Linked DNA regions of Homo sapiens: regions 2, 3, 4 and 5 are each linked to region 1. Evidence: promoter capture Hi-C in 16 types of primary human blood cells and fetal thymus (Javierre and others, 2016). All regions are on one chromosome and are shown on one strand. Each heading gives the region's core, a stretch centred on a gene start or on the middle of the fragment in contact. The rest is flanking DNA. Distances are from core to core; before and after follow the strand shown.

Region 1 (2,703 bases), core at 114-2,613:
TGCTAAATCCTACTGATTTATTTTTTTCTTTTTTCTCTTTTTCATGTTGTAGTGTCCAGTCTACTTCTTACTGGGTATTTGCAAAAATGAATTTTCTTGCTCTATCACCCAGGAACATTGTGTTTTGGGAGCTGGGTCTTTCCTCTTTAACATAATTCCATTCCCCATTTTGTAGCAAATCAGTCTGCTCCTCCTCTAATACCTAAAAGTCAACAAATACCTGCCTCAAGCCCCAGGTTTCCCATCTTCTCCCGAAGGTCTTCTAGCATCGGTTTGGTTAGCAATTTCCTGCCAGAGCCACCTACATCTTGATTATTTTGGTCAGTCTTTCGGGGATTTCATTTCAGACCCCCTTCGAGAAACACTGTAGCCCAACTGATCCCAGGGGTTGGTGAACTTTCAGTTTTATTTTCCCTGACGGTGTTAACGCCCAAACTTTTCACCTCCTAAGTCAAAAAGGACTTTGACTCTAGCTCATTTCCTACTACCTCCAACGTCAGTTAAAAAAAAAAAAAAAAAAGCAAAACACCACTCTACATTTAAAAGAATCATATATTTTTCCTTAAGGATACTTTTAATGTTTCTGACATTTAGCATTTGTTTTTTGCATAAAAAGTCGTTTTGGCATATCCATCCTAGTGGGACTTAACATTTCATGAAATGATTCACTACTAATAAACAAAAAAGGGAGGAGGGAGGCCTCATGGGTTAATAGTTTCTTTCATTGTAGATGACCAGGAACTTTGACCAGCCCCTTCACTTCCCCAAGCTCTCTGAAAGTGGAGGGTTGATCTTTCCTTTTGACCACTTTTGTCGCATCCCGTCTAAGGGTGGCTGATTTCACTGCTGAATTAACCACCAAGCACCCCCCCACCCCCTCCCCCAGCCACCACTTTCTCAAATACTACCCTTCCTTTTCCCCCTCCCTTAAGACTTATTTCTAATATTTCTAAAGTGCACTGTTTTGGGCCTCTCCCCATCCCCGCCCCCCAAGTGGGCTTTCCTTCCGCCTTCCTCGGCTCGGATTCCTGACTTGGTCGCCACCCCCTTCTCCTCCTCTCCCACCCCGCATTGTCTTTCTGAAACCGCCCCCTCCCGGAGCAAGTCCCTGCACCCTCGCCCAGAATCCCGGGCTCGCACACACTCCGCGCAGGCCGCTCCCCCTGCACACTCCTCCCTCCGTCTCCCCCCGGCTTCCCCGCCCCTCTCTTCCTCCTTCTTTCCCTCCTCCCTCTCCCGGCGCCCGAAAGGATCATTGTTAGCCGCCCCCGCCCCGCCCACCCCGGCTGTTTATTTATGCACACGTCACTGGGCCGGCCCCGCCCTCCGGCATCTCATTAAGGCAGTGTGTTCCTCTCGCCCTGTCAATAATCTCCGCTCCCAGACTACTCCGTTCCTCCGGATTTCGATCCCCCTTTTTCTATCTGTCAATCAGCGCCGCCTTTGAACTGAAAAGCTCTCAGTCTAACTTCAACTCACTCAAATCCGAGCGGCACGAGCACCTCCTGTATCTTCGGCTTCCCCCCCCCTTTGCTCTTTATATCTGACTTCTTGTTGTTGTTGGTGTTTTTTTTTTTTTTACCCCCCTTTTTTATTTATTATTTTTTTGCACATTGATCGGATCCTTGGGAACGAGAGAAAAAAGAAACCCAAACTCACGCGTGCAGAAGATCTCCCCCCCCTTCCCCTCCCCTCCTCCCTCTTTTCCCCTCCCCAGGAGAAAAAGACCCCCAAGCAGAAAAAAGTTCACCTTGGACTCGTCTTTTTCTTGCAATATTTTTTGGGGGGGCAAAACTTTTTGGGGGTGATTTTTTTTGGCTTTTCTTCCTCCTTCATTTTTCTTCCAAAATTGCTGCTGGTGGGTGAAAAAAAAATGCCGCAGCTGAACGGCGGTGGAGGGGATGACCTAGGCGCCAACGACGAACTGATTTCCTTCAAAGACGAGGGCGAACAGGAGGAGAAGAGCTCCGAAAACTCCTCGGCAGAGAGGGATTTAGCTGATGTCAAATCGTCTCTAGTCAATGAATCAGAAACGAATCAAAACAGCTCCTCCGATTCCGAGGTAGGAAAAGCCCCTCGGGCTGGTGGGGTTTTTTATCTGTTTCCTGGGCTTGGCAAATGTTGCTGAAAGGGGAGAAATCGGGGCTGGGGGCGGCGGCGGGGCCCGGCGGGCGGCGTGTGCGTACGGTGCCACCATTGCAAAAACTTGTAACCCTGTTTTTTTCTACCCCCCCCTCGACCTCGCCGATTCTTTTTCTCCCCCTTCTCCCCCTTCTGCGTGGCGTTTGCCCCTCGCCCTCCCCACCTCCACCCCTCTGGGAAGGCGGAAAGACGGCCTCCGCCTCGCTCCGAAAGTTTCCGAGACAAATCCCGGGAAAGTTTGGAAGAAGGTGAGTACGCCCCGCGCGCCCCGCAGCCGCCCGGAGCCGCCCCCCGGGCCGGCCGCCCCGCGCGCCCCGGCCCCGCGCCCGGCTCGGCCTGGCCCTGCGCCGGCCCGGTCGGGGCGCCCGGCCCCTCGGGGCACTTTCTAAAAAGTTTCTCCTCACTCTCTCCCGCTCCGCGCGGCCGCCGCTGTCCCCTCGCCGCCCCGCCATGTTAGCGGCCAAGAGGCAAGATGGAGGGCTCTTTAAGGGGCCACCGTATCCCGGCTACCCCTTCATCATGATCCCCGACCTGACGAGCCCCTACCTCCCCAACGGATCG
Region 2 (2,703 bases), core at 87-2,586, 310 kb before region 1:
ACGCCTGTAATCCCAGCACTTTGGGAGGCCAAGGTGGGCGGATCACGAGGTCAAGAGATCCTGGCTAACAGGGTGAAACCCCATCTCTACTAAACATACAAAAACTTAGCTGGGCGTGGTGGCACATGCCTGTAGTCCCAGCTACTTAGGAGGCTGAGGCAGGAGAGTCACTTGAACCCAGGAGGTGGAGGTTGCAGTGTGCCGAGATCGCGCTACTGCACTGTAGCCTGGGTGACAGGGTGAGACTCCCATCTCAAAAAAAAAACAGCTGTATAAAAGACTCTCTTTTTCTTTAGCATTTAACTCTTAAGTAAAGAAGAAATTAAAAAGTAAAGTAAAATTGTAAATAAGTAATTGCACCTTTATTTCTGTACTGTACATCCCATAAAGATAGACAATATGATTGACCTAAAAGTTCTAAATAAATAAACTTAAATCAGAATGTGTGGATTAGGGAGTAAAATGGTAGTACGAAAAAATTGTCTTGTATACAGTTGCTTTTTAGATGTGTAAAAACTGTTTACTTGACACACAATGCTTTGGAATTAATCACATATGCAAGCATGTTGTTTGTTGGGGAAACCCCTTATAGTCTCTACATATGTGAATGAAAGATGGGATTTGTTTGAATTACTCTATAGCCTTCATTGTTAAAATCAGAATTAAGTTCTTTGTTCAGTGAAGCATTCGTAGCAATCCTTGAGATTTCTGAGCAGGGCTGGTTGTTGGCAGAGAGTTCTCAGTGTATTATGCTGTTTACCTAAGGGTTTTATTCAAGAAGCTCTCTGAACAGCTGGGCTGATTATTGAAAATGCCTCATAGTAACTTCCAGCCTAGGCTGATCGATATCGGTGCAAAGCTTTACATGGGAGGGAGTTATTTAAACATTGAGAGCCCCAGGGATAAAAGAGAATGAAAAAATAATGCTGGACAAATATGCTGAAATGTTCAAAAGAAGAGAGAAGTATCTTGTCTTGGTATAGAGGGGAAATTCCTAAACAAACAAGCTAGAAAATTTGTAAGCTGATCTTATTACACCCTAAACATTTACTTATTTTAACTTATAGCAATCCCCTAAATATTTATTTATCTTATAACAACACCCTAAGTATTTGGTGGCAAGAGGAAAGATTAATTAAAAGTACCAAAGATCAATTTTATTTTTATTTATTTTGAAATGTAACCTATTACATAAAATTCCATGAGACACTTTTTAGTGATAATATTGGGAAATATTTAACTTTATTGTCAAATAGATTCAGCTCTCATAGTTTAAATGTAGCACAAATGTATTTCACCCAAATGTAAGCAGAAAATTCCTATTTCTTTAATTTTTTTTTTTTTTTTTAACTACAGAGATCTAGAATACAGATATTACCATTTCCTTCTGGCTTAGTCCTAGCAAAACAGGTTGGGCTTTTTTTTTTTTTCATTTCTGTTTTTAAACAATTTAATAAAATAAATAAAAACTGTACTAGAAATAGGAGATTTTATTTCCTAAAGGCATTTGGTGGAATTATGACATTGAAGCAAAAGTATCAGCATTTAAAAGCCTGTTTCTTTCTACAAAATGGGAGAACAGAGAAATACTCCAAAAAGGGAGGGAAAAACACTCAATTTATCAAAGTGGAAGCCTGTATCAAGAAATCCTACATCTTGTTACATCCAGGATTTCTTACTTTTGCTCTGCTCATGAGCAACAGACAGAAAGTTCAGAAACACAAAGGCAATCAATATGAAAACTGTGAAAGTCTCTTAATTAATCAACTCACACAAACTCTCCAAGTAAGAGGATTTTACAAACATTTCAATTAAAGCTTTCTCTTTTTATTACTAAATTTCATTGACAATTAAAAATGCATAATGAGAGTCGACATGATTATAAAAAGCAAAATATCATTTAAATACTGAGCTTTTAGACGTATAGGAGACTGACTTTCTGATGCTTATTCTTTTGATGAATCACATAGACAATTACTAATTGGATAGTTATTCTATAACAGTGACATTTTGGAATTTTCAAAACAGGTAGCTCTTTGAACATGTTTGTATTTCTCTCCTCATGTTAACATCATCATTTTGGCATACTCAGACCTAGAAGCTTCATGACTGACTCACTAATGAAATTCAGCAATCATACATATGCAAAGAACTACCTAATTCATTGAAATATTTAAGAACTGACATGGGGTGACTAGATGTTTTAACATTTAAGAGCTCTAGAACAGGCTGAAAACACTAACATCCAAGTGTTTACCTATGAATTGATATTGGAATACAAGAAACTAACTTACATTGAAAAGGTATATACAGAATATGGAAATTTTTATAAAAAACAAAAGCCAGCTTAGTCTAATAGTTTGTTTTTGCTTTTAAAAGAAAAGTTTGTTTGAAATCTTCATTGACTCTCAGCTGCTGGTTCCAGAAACTACACATATTCCCAATATGGCTTATGCCAGTTTTCTGCTTTGAAGACTAAAAAATAGACCAGAAGACAAAATATGATTTCATGATTCTGTGCCTCCCTTGTGACAGTAGAAAAGTAATTTAACTCCTTTGTGCAGCTTTTCTTCACCAGTAAATTAGGAATAATCATGTCTTCCACCTTCTGTTGGGGACTTTGAAGAGTAATGATTCAAGGGCCATTTGGAGTTAAAATAGAAATATGAAATTATTTTTCTTTACCCAAAGACTTAAGTTCAT
Region 3 (2,703 bases), core at 57-2,556, 280 kb after region 1:
TTTAGTACCACTTTATATATAGCATTTAACTTAATCTTTAGTATAATCTTTACAGATGAAAAAAACGATGTTTAGAGACATCGTTTAAACTCACCCAGTGGCCCAGCTAGTAAATATAGCAAGATTCAAGCTCAAGGCTTGGATTTCAAAGACCAAGCTCTTCCCACTTCACCACACTGCTCAGTGGGAAGCTTCCTTGGTGGCCTGTAAGAGTTTTCCGCTTTAAGGCATTTGAATTCTCTAGCTGGTGCTGTTGGAGTCCCCACACATATCCCCTTGACCCTGAGTGAGGTCTCCAGCAGACAGCTCCCAGATACTCCAATGGCTCCTGACTGTACTTGGCCAGATCACAGGGCAAGCCAAAAGTGCCAGGGAATGAATGCCCCAGAAGGACCCTCTCAATCAATGATGGATAGGAATTGGTGGATAACTACTGCAGCTTCCTTGTCCCTTTAACAGACAATTCAGAAGCGACCTCCACAGTCTCTCAGGTCTGTTGTGAGACTGAGCCCAGCTGCCTGCAAATGTAGCCTGATCATTAGTCCATTAGCGCCCTCTTTATGGTTTCACTTTCTTTCTCCCTCTAGTGCTTTCTTGGCTCAACTCTCAAATAAACAACTTATACCTAGGTTCTGCTTTTGGGGAAACTCAAACTAAGAAAGGTACTGCCTTCTTCTCAATGCTCAGAACTTAGGGAGCTCCGCCATGATGCGGGTGGCCCAAGAATAAAAAATGGCTACAATTGAGTATCTTTTTCTGTTTTTGTCTTTTTTGATACAGGGTCTTGCTCTGTCACCCAGGCTGGAATGCAGTGGCACAGTCATGGCTCACTGCAGCCTCAAACTCCCGGGCTCAAGTGATTCCCCTGCCTCAACCTCCCTAGTAACTGGAACTACAGACACACACCACCATGCTCTGCTAATTTTTAAAACTTTTTTTTTTTTTTTTTTGTAAAGACAGGGTTTCTGTATGTTGCCCAGGCTGATCTCAAACTCCTGGACTCCAGTGATCCTCCTACCTTGGGCCCCAGAGTGCTAGGATTACAGGTGTGAGCCACTGCACCCAGGCCAAGTATCTTCTTTAATGAAAGAAAAATTTTCCTTCTTTCACCTTGCTCCTTCAGAGGGAAGACTGCCTGGTGTGAAGAGTTGGTATTTAGGTGGTCATATACTTTTGAAATGGTGAATGGAGTTCCCAAGGTCACATGACTTCTGCTGAAGTGGGGATTCCCTAGAGAATTTCAGCAGAGGGTGAGGCAAGGGTACCTGGCTGCCTCTGCTCCTGGTGCCAACCATATGCCGTGGACTTCACAGCCCAGGCAGGCAGGTATAGGCCTGCACCTGCTGTAGTGCTCTTGAAGGCTTGAGTGGGGAGTGGGGATGCTCAGAAGGACCCATGAGTGAACAGGACCATGTCACCTTCTGGAGCTTGCCAAGAAAGCCCTTTATGTCAACTGGGGGCTGGGGCGGGGAACAGCAGGACAAAGCAGAAAGATAACTAACAGGGAGTTGAGCGATCTGGACTGAAACACTAGCTCTACCATGATTCTTTCAGTCAACCCATGATTAGTAAGTGTCTGCTGTATGCAGGCTGGTGTGATATTTAAAACATTTAGCTGTCACTATCTGAGCACTGTGCCACACATTAACTCTTTGATTACTGGATTATGGGGAGTCCAAAAGGTCCAGAGGAGGGTATGGGTTAGCTGGGGTACCATGGAGCACTGGGAAGGTTTGGGGCAGTGGTTAATTGCCAATGGATACAGAAACATTTCAATATCTTAACAACTGTCCCAGTCATACAGCCATGTAATGACTGAAAACATACCTGGTAATATGGTTTGGCTGTGTCCCCACAAAAATTTCATCTTGAATTGTAGCTCCCACAATTCCCATGTGTCATGGGAGTGACCCGGTAGAAGGTAATTGAATCATGGGGGTGGGTCTTTCTCATGCTGTTCTTGTGACAGTGAATAAGTCTCATGAGATCTGATGGTTTTTTTTTTTTTGAGATGGAGTATCGCTCTTTTGCCCAGGCTGGAGCGCAGTGGCATGGAAATCTGATGGTTTTATAAAGATCTGATGGTTTTACATGCTCTCTGTTGCCTACACCATGTAAGATGTGCCTTTTGCCTCTTCTGCCATGACTGTGAGGCCTCCCCAGCCATGTGGAACTGTGAGTCAATTAACTCCTCTCTTTGTCTCTTTTTTTTTTTTTTAAATAAGTTACCCAGTCTTAGGTATGTGTTATTAGCAGCAAGAGAACAGACTAATATACCTGGTACCTGGAACTATGCTAGGCACTGGGAAATAATCGTGAAACCAAGCCAATTTCATCCTTGTTGCCTAGGGAAACAGACTCTGTTCACCCCTTCACACTAATAAGCATATGATTCTACACCAGATGAAAGTTCTCCAGGAAAGAAGCTTTGCTCCGAAAGCATTAAGCACAGGAGCTTCACCCGGTGCTGGGGCCAGAGAAGACTTCCTTGAAGAACACAAACCAAAATCTATAAGCGAATCGAGTGAGCAGCAGGATGAGAACTTTCCAGAGAGGGAACAGCAATCTTGAAAAAGTCTGGGGGTGGAAGGGAACATGTTGTATTTGAAGGTTGGACAGGTGGTCAGTGTGGCTTGAACAAGGAGAATGGGGGTGGGGAGTGGACCAAGATGACTTTGGAGGCTCACACAGGAGCCAGGCCAG
Region 4 (2,703 bases), core at 148-2,647, 280 kb before region 1:
GCTTTCACTTCCAGCCCTTGTGAGCTTGTGTTTCAGAAAGAAAAGCCACATTCTCTTACTCTTCTTCTTACCAAAACTGCATAGCTATATCGTGTGTCAACAAGCGTTTCTGATTTAGGAAATGTTATGTTATTGAATCTTGTACTCATCTGTCACCTTCACAAATCTATAAAAGAAATGAATGTCCTCTTTGTGAAGTGTGAGCATTTACCTGCATATAACATAAGCTTATTTTCATATGATAAATTCTGTGTGACTGAAAATAGTTAAATATTCTGTAGTATACCAAACCAAGGAGTTGCTTTATTTAAAAGAAAGATTGCAGGTTATTTTTAAAATTTTTTAAACCTTGATTGTTCTTAAATTTGTAAAGTGAACAGAAATGGCTTGGCACGGCTCATCATTTGAGCCATTTTACGTATGGTCTGTTGTGAAGACAGGTGAAACCAGTGTTCCATTGATACCAAGATCTGTGCGTATGGCCACTTGATTATCTGTAAAACTGACCAAAAGGAATTGGAGAAATCAAAATAAGTAAGCAACAAAAATTAAGTTTATAAAATCCAGCAGCCACTAAATAATCATCTACCACTCATGCTTTTTAATATTTTATTAACTTCAAATAAGATAAACATCTATTTCCTTCCTTCTTTCCTTTCTTCTCTTCTTTCTTCTGCTTATTCATTTCCTTAGTAAATATTTAATGTCTGTATGCCAGGGCCGGGGATCCTGAAATGAAACCAATTTTATCCTCACTTTCAGAGTACTTTAGTGTAGTAGAGGACGTATGCATAAAAATGTACTATGGAAATTCACAAAATTAACGGATTCTCAAAGCAGCTATTGAAGATTCCACAACTCCAGTTAGTCCTTGCTGGTCATTAAAAGGGACACCAGAAAAACAAATAACTAATAAAAAATACGAGTTAAATGGCTATAATGCCCACCTGTTTGGAAAAAAAAATAGGGAAATAGAAAATGGTATATGGAATCATTACAAACAAATTTTGAAAAGAACTAAGGTGTGCAAAAACATTGACATATAATATGTAATTTAGTGAGACAGCAACTGCTTCAACCGAAAAGAAATTGCTCTTCATGTAAGCATGCCATGTTACCAAAAGAAAGAAAACAAAGGAGAAAATTGGTTCATTCAAAATTATAATAGTAAAACTCGACATCAGAACACAGCTCTGGCTGATTTCCTGGAAAGTAATTTTTCTTCGATCCTGACATGTGATGGAGAGCCATCCAGGGACAAACTGTTCATTTCCTAACTCTGTAGACAGAGTTTAAATACAGTGGAATTCAGATAATAATGAAAATGGTCATGAAACAAGTGACCATTTATGTTGTAACTGGGTCCAATAAATGGGTCTTTTCATTGACTTTCACAAAATTTGATTATTATAATTGGCTGTCTTAAAGTGTCACAGTATCACTAGGAGACTTAAATGTCTCTCTTCATATGTGTGTATTTATGTGTGTGTCTGTGTGTGTATTTTTTCTATACCTTTGAGCAGAAAGTCTTATTCGTTCAAACTGTCGGCAATCTGTAAAAATGAAAATTAAGATTTTCAAAATTCAGTCAGAATAAAAAGAAATCATGATTCTATTTCCTTTTACCTCTGAAGAGTTAATGATTGATCACTAATTGTACATTTGTTTCTAAAAGTATATGAACAATGCCTCAGGAATGTAACAAAGTTATAGCTTAAGAGCTCCACTGACAAAAATTTACAGGATATGTTACTACTTTACCTTGGCTCCTCCGCTGCATTGTATATGCTGGCAAAGTGCTTATAAAAAAAATGGCATAAGCCAGGTGTGGTGGCTCACACCCGTAATCCCAACACTTTGGGAGACCGAGGCAGGCAGATCACTTGATGCCAGGAGTTCGAAACCAGCCTGGCCAACATGGTGAAACCTCACCTCTACTAAAAAATACAAAAAAAATTCGCCAGGTGCAGTAGCTAATAATCCCAGCTACTTGGGAAGCTGAGGCATGAAAATCACTTCAGCCTGGGAGGCGAAAGGTTGCAGCGAGCCGAGGTCACATCACTGCACTCCAGCCTGGGTGACAGAGTGAGACTCCATCTCAAAAAAAAAAAAAAAAGAAAAAGGAAAAGAAAAGAAGGAATGGCATAGATGATTAACACCCATTCTGTTTGACAATCTCAAATCAAATAATTTCCTCTCTCCCCGACACTACCTATATTTGCCCCCATTCACACACATGCGCGCGTGCGCGCGCACACACACACACACGCACTCAGATTGTTTCCTTCAGAAAGTGAATTTTGTTTATCCTTCCAGTATGAGTATGGTTAACTTCCTTATGCGTGGAGCTGCTAAGAGGTCTTTTGTAACTAATCTGTAGTATAAACAAAGCAGACAGTATTAAATGCAGTTGACCTAGCCAGGACCATTCACACAATATTATCTGATATGCATATTTTTGTTAGAGTTACTTTCGAGTTAGCCTGGGGAATCATTGCCACCTATCATTGCTATCATATTTTACATTTTAAATGTAGTCTTTGGTAGAATGACAGGTAAAACATCTGGAAAGCTTAAATGCACTGTCAGAATGATTCCTAAGAGTAAATAGACCAGGAATGCCAATGCAAGATCTGTAAGCTATAGAAATGTAATTTTTAAAATAAAAACAGGTTTATTCTTACATATGCCATGGCTAGATGT
Region 5 (2,703 bases), core at 98-2,597, 260 kb before region 1:
TGAGCTCAGGTGATCCACCCACCTCAGCCTCCCAAAGTGCAGGAATTACAGGCATCAGCCACTGTGCCTGGCCTACTAATGCCAATTTTTCATAGTTATTATAGTTATTGTCAGTAGTGGGTTTTTTAAAAATCAAGTTATTATGACATATATGGAGGCTCAGGAAAGCCCAGCAGTGTGTGGTTGACATTAATTTGGTTTCAGAAAATAAAAGGGCTGCCTCTAGCATGTCCTTAGAGCTCCTCAGCCTGGTATTTAAGAGCACTCTCAGTTTTGACAACTGGGTACTGAGAATTATTTGTACCTTTCTATAGTGACCATCCAAACCACTTGCATGTATTAATTTTAACGTGTTTGATGATAATATTGATGACAAAAATGTATGTATAAGCAGAGCAGGCAAGTCACTCTGGTAGGGAAAAGTGCAGTGAATTCCAGAAATAGCCCCACTTTTCCCAAGGTATTCCCTACCTGACTGGAAGGTAATACTGAACTTGGGTTAAGGCTCCATGCATTGTCTTCATCAGATGTCAGTGCTTGGAAATGTCATCAGTAACAGTCATGTGCACCTACCTGGTCATGTGTTAACCAAGTGTAATGTGTCTCCACCTTGCACAAAGCACTGAGGGGCAGCCTCTGCATTCTGGAGGTCAGGAGGAGGGCCTGAGGGAAGGGTGGTTTTGGAGCTGACTCCAGGAGACATGGGTGGGGTGCCCTGGTAGGAGGTGCTGGACAGCCAGGGGGCAGCATGGGAGCATTTTGTATGTGATGAAGGAGGACAGAGAATTGGAAGAGGGGGATAAACGAAAACGTCACCGTTCTTCCTGAGCCCAGCCCTGGGGAGGATGATGGATGACTTTTTGTCATCTTTTGTATTTCCTCGGGGCAGCTAAAGCAGAATCTCTCCACTGAGACCAGAGGTTGAAAACTGGAAGTCTGTGGGCCACAAGTGGCCTACAGATTTTTTTACTTTTGCTCTGCACAGTTTTTTTTTTAATTATTATTTACATACAACAAAATTCACCCATTTTAACTGTAGAGTTGGATGTTTGTTGGTATGCATATGCAGCTGTGTTGCCTTGCTCCACCACCACACATCAAGATATAGAACAGTTCCCTCACTCCAGAAGTTTCCTCCTACCCCTTTGCATTCAAATCTCTTTCCCCACCCTGCCACAGAGAGCCACTGATCTGCTTCCTGACATTAGAGTTTTGCCTTTTCTAAAATTTCATGTAAATGGAATTATACAGTGTGTCATCTTTTGTATATGACTTCTTTCATTTGCATAGAGCTTTTGAAATTAATCCATGTAGTTGCATATGTCAGTATTTCATTCCTTTTAATTGCTGAGTAATATTCCAGAGTGGGGGTATACTACAATTTATCTATTCACCAGTAGATGAATGTGTAAGTTGCTTCCAGTTTGGGGCTATTTTAAATAACGCTGCTGTGAATATTTGTGTATATATCTTTTTGCAGACATAGGTTTTCGTTTCTCTTGGTAAATACTTAGGAGTAGGATTGATGGGTCATATGGTAAGTATATGTTTAATTTTATAAGAACCTATCCGATTGTTCCCAAAGACACTGAACCATTTTGCAGTCCCATAAACATGGATGAGAGTTCCGGTTGCTCTCCATCATTGCTCTTAAAGCATCCAAACACTCAGAACCCATTAAAGGGCCACATGGCCTCCAGCTCACCCCAGTTCCTATTTGACCTATTTTCCTCATTTACATTACCCACCTGTAACCTGTAGGTTTGTGACCTGTGCCATTGAGCAACTTTATGCTCCATAGCATATAGCAGGGTGTGACAGTTAAGAGCAGGGTCTATGGAGATTCTCGGTTGGAATCTCCATCTTGCCATTTATAAGCTGTCACTTTGGACTTCTCTCTGAATTCGCTTCTTCATCGGTAAAATGCTAAAAACACCTTATTTATTAGCTGGCTAGTTGTAAAAATGAAAAATATAGAGCATGTGAAGCATCCATCACAGGACTGGGCCTGTAGAAAATGTACAATAGATGGTACCTGTTAGTATCCATGCAATAGCCCCATGATTGTCTATTATATGTGTGTGCATCAGAGTCACCTGCACAGATTCTTTTTAAAACATAGGTCCTGCCCTAGCCATAGGTGCCCCTGCCCCAGCCCTCCTTCAGAATGAGAACTTCCCAGGCTGGGCCTGTGCATATGCATTGTTTTAAAGTCCCATAGTTCGATCAAAGTGGTTCACACCTGTAATTCCAGCATTTTGGGAGGCCAAGGCAGGCGGATCATTTGAGGCCAGGAATTCAAGAACAGGCTGGCGAAACCCCGTCTCTACTAAAAATACAAAAAAATTAGCCAGGCATGGTGGTGTGTGCCTGTGCTCCCAGCTGCTTGGGAGGCTGAGGTGAGAGAGTCTCTTGAACACAGGAGGTGTAGGTTGCAGTGAGCCAAGACCATGCCACTGCACTCCAGCCTGGGCAACAGAATGAGACTCTGCCTCAAAAATAAATAAATAAATAAATAAATAAATAAATAAATAAATAAATGAAAGTTCCACAGATAATTGGTATGAGCATCCTTGGCCTACAACTGTTGGATGGGAAGATGTAGCAAGGAACCCTACATTCTAAACTCAGTTCTACTGCCAACTAGCTATGTGACTTTGGACAAATCACTTAATCTCTCTGAGAGAGCTAGTTTAGTTGAGA

What was found. Contacts are between HindIII fragments. The CHiCAGO score rates a contact against its expected background, and 5 or more counts as called.
Region 2: a fragment that was not itself captured here is called in contact with the fragment with the promoter of TCF7L2 in region 1 in 2 of 17 cell types (endothelial precursors and M1 macrophages); the score reaches 6.0 in endothelial precursors.
Region 3: a contact is called between a fragment that was not itself captured here and the fragment with the promoter of TCF7L2 in region 1, in 1 of 17 cell types (M2 macrophages). The highest score is 5.6, in M2 macrophages.
Region 4: a contact is called between a fragment that was not itself captured here and the fragment with the promoter of TCF7L2 in region 1, in 3 of 17 cell types (M2 macrophages, M1 macrophages and endothelial precursors). The highest score is 6.4, in M2 macrophages.
Region 5: a fragment that was not itself captured here is called in contact with the fragment with the promoter of TCF7L2 in region 1 in 2 of 17 cell types (M1 macrophages and M2 macrophages); the score reaches 5.7 in M1 macrophages.

What each region holds. Positions count from the first base shown.
Region 1 is chr10:112,948,884-112,951,586 of GRCh38, forward strand. It overlaps TCF7L2 (transcription factor 7 like 2), which reads left to right and starts at 1,364. Exons shown (of 15, transcript NM_001367943.1): 1 at 1,364-2,062; 2 at 2,324-2,390; 3 at 2,600-2,703. The coding sequence starts at 1,874. LOC124902502 (a long non-coding RNA gene) reads right to left here. Exons shown (of 2, transcript XR_007062291.1): 2 at 1,746-2,124. The HindIII fragment of the contact is 8,187 bases long and covers 1-2,703 here.
Region 2 is chr10:112,637,405-112,640,107 of GRCh38, forward strand. The region is part of intron 5 of VTI1A (vesicle transport through interaction with t-SNAREs 1A); the gene reads left to right. It overlaps LOC124902503 (a long non-coding RNA gene), which reads left to right. Exons shown (of 2, transcript XR_007062292.1): 2 at 1-2,703. Among named protein-coding and RNA genes, the nearest start is that of MIR4295, 4.6 kb to the left of the region's middle. The HindIII fragment of the contact is 958 bases long and covers 858-1,815 here.
Region 3 is chr10:113,232,770-113,235,472 of GRCh38, forward strand. No RefSeq gene overlaps it. Among named protein-coding and RNA genes, the nearest start is that of SNORA87, 190 kb to the left of the region's middle. The HindIII fragment of the contact is 2,235 bases long and covers 190-2,424 here.
Region 4 is chr10:112,671,216-112,673,918 of GRCh38, forward strand. All of the region lies in intron 7 of VTI1A (vesicle transport through interaction with t-SNAREs 1A), which reads left to right. Among named protein-coding and RNA genes, the nearest start is that of MIR4295, 38 kb to the left of the region's middle. The HindIII fragment of the contact is 2,345 bases long and covers 226-2,570 here.
Region 5 is chr10:112,688,766-112,691,468 of GRCh38, forward strand. All of the region lies in intron 7 of VTI1A (vesicle transport through interaction with t-SNAREs 1A), which reads left to right. Among named protein-coding and RNA genes, the nearest start is that of MIR4295, 56 kb to the left of the region's middle. The HindIII fragment of the contact is 8,382 bases long and covers 1-2,703 here.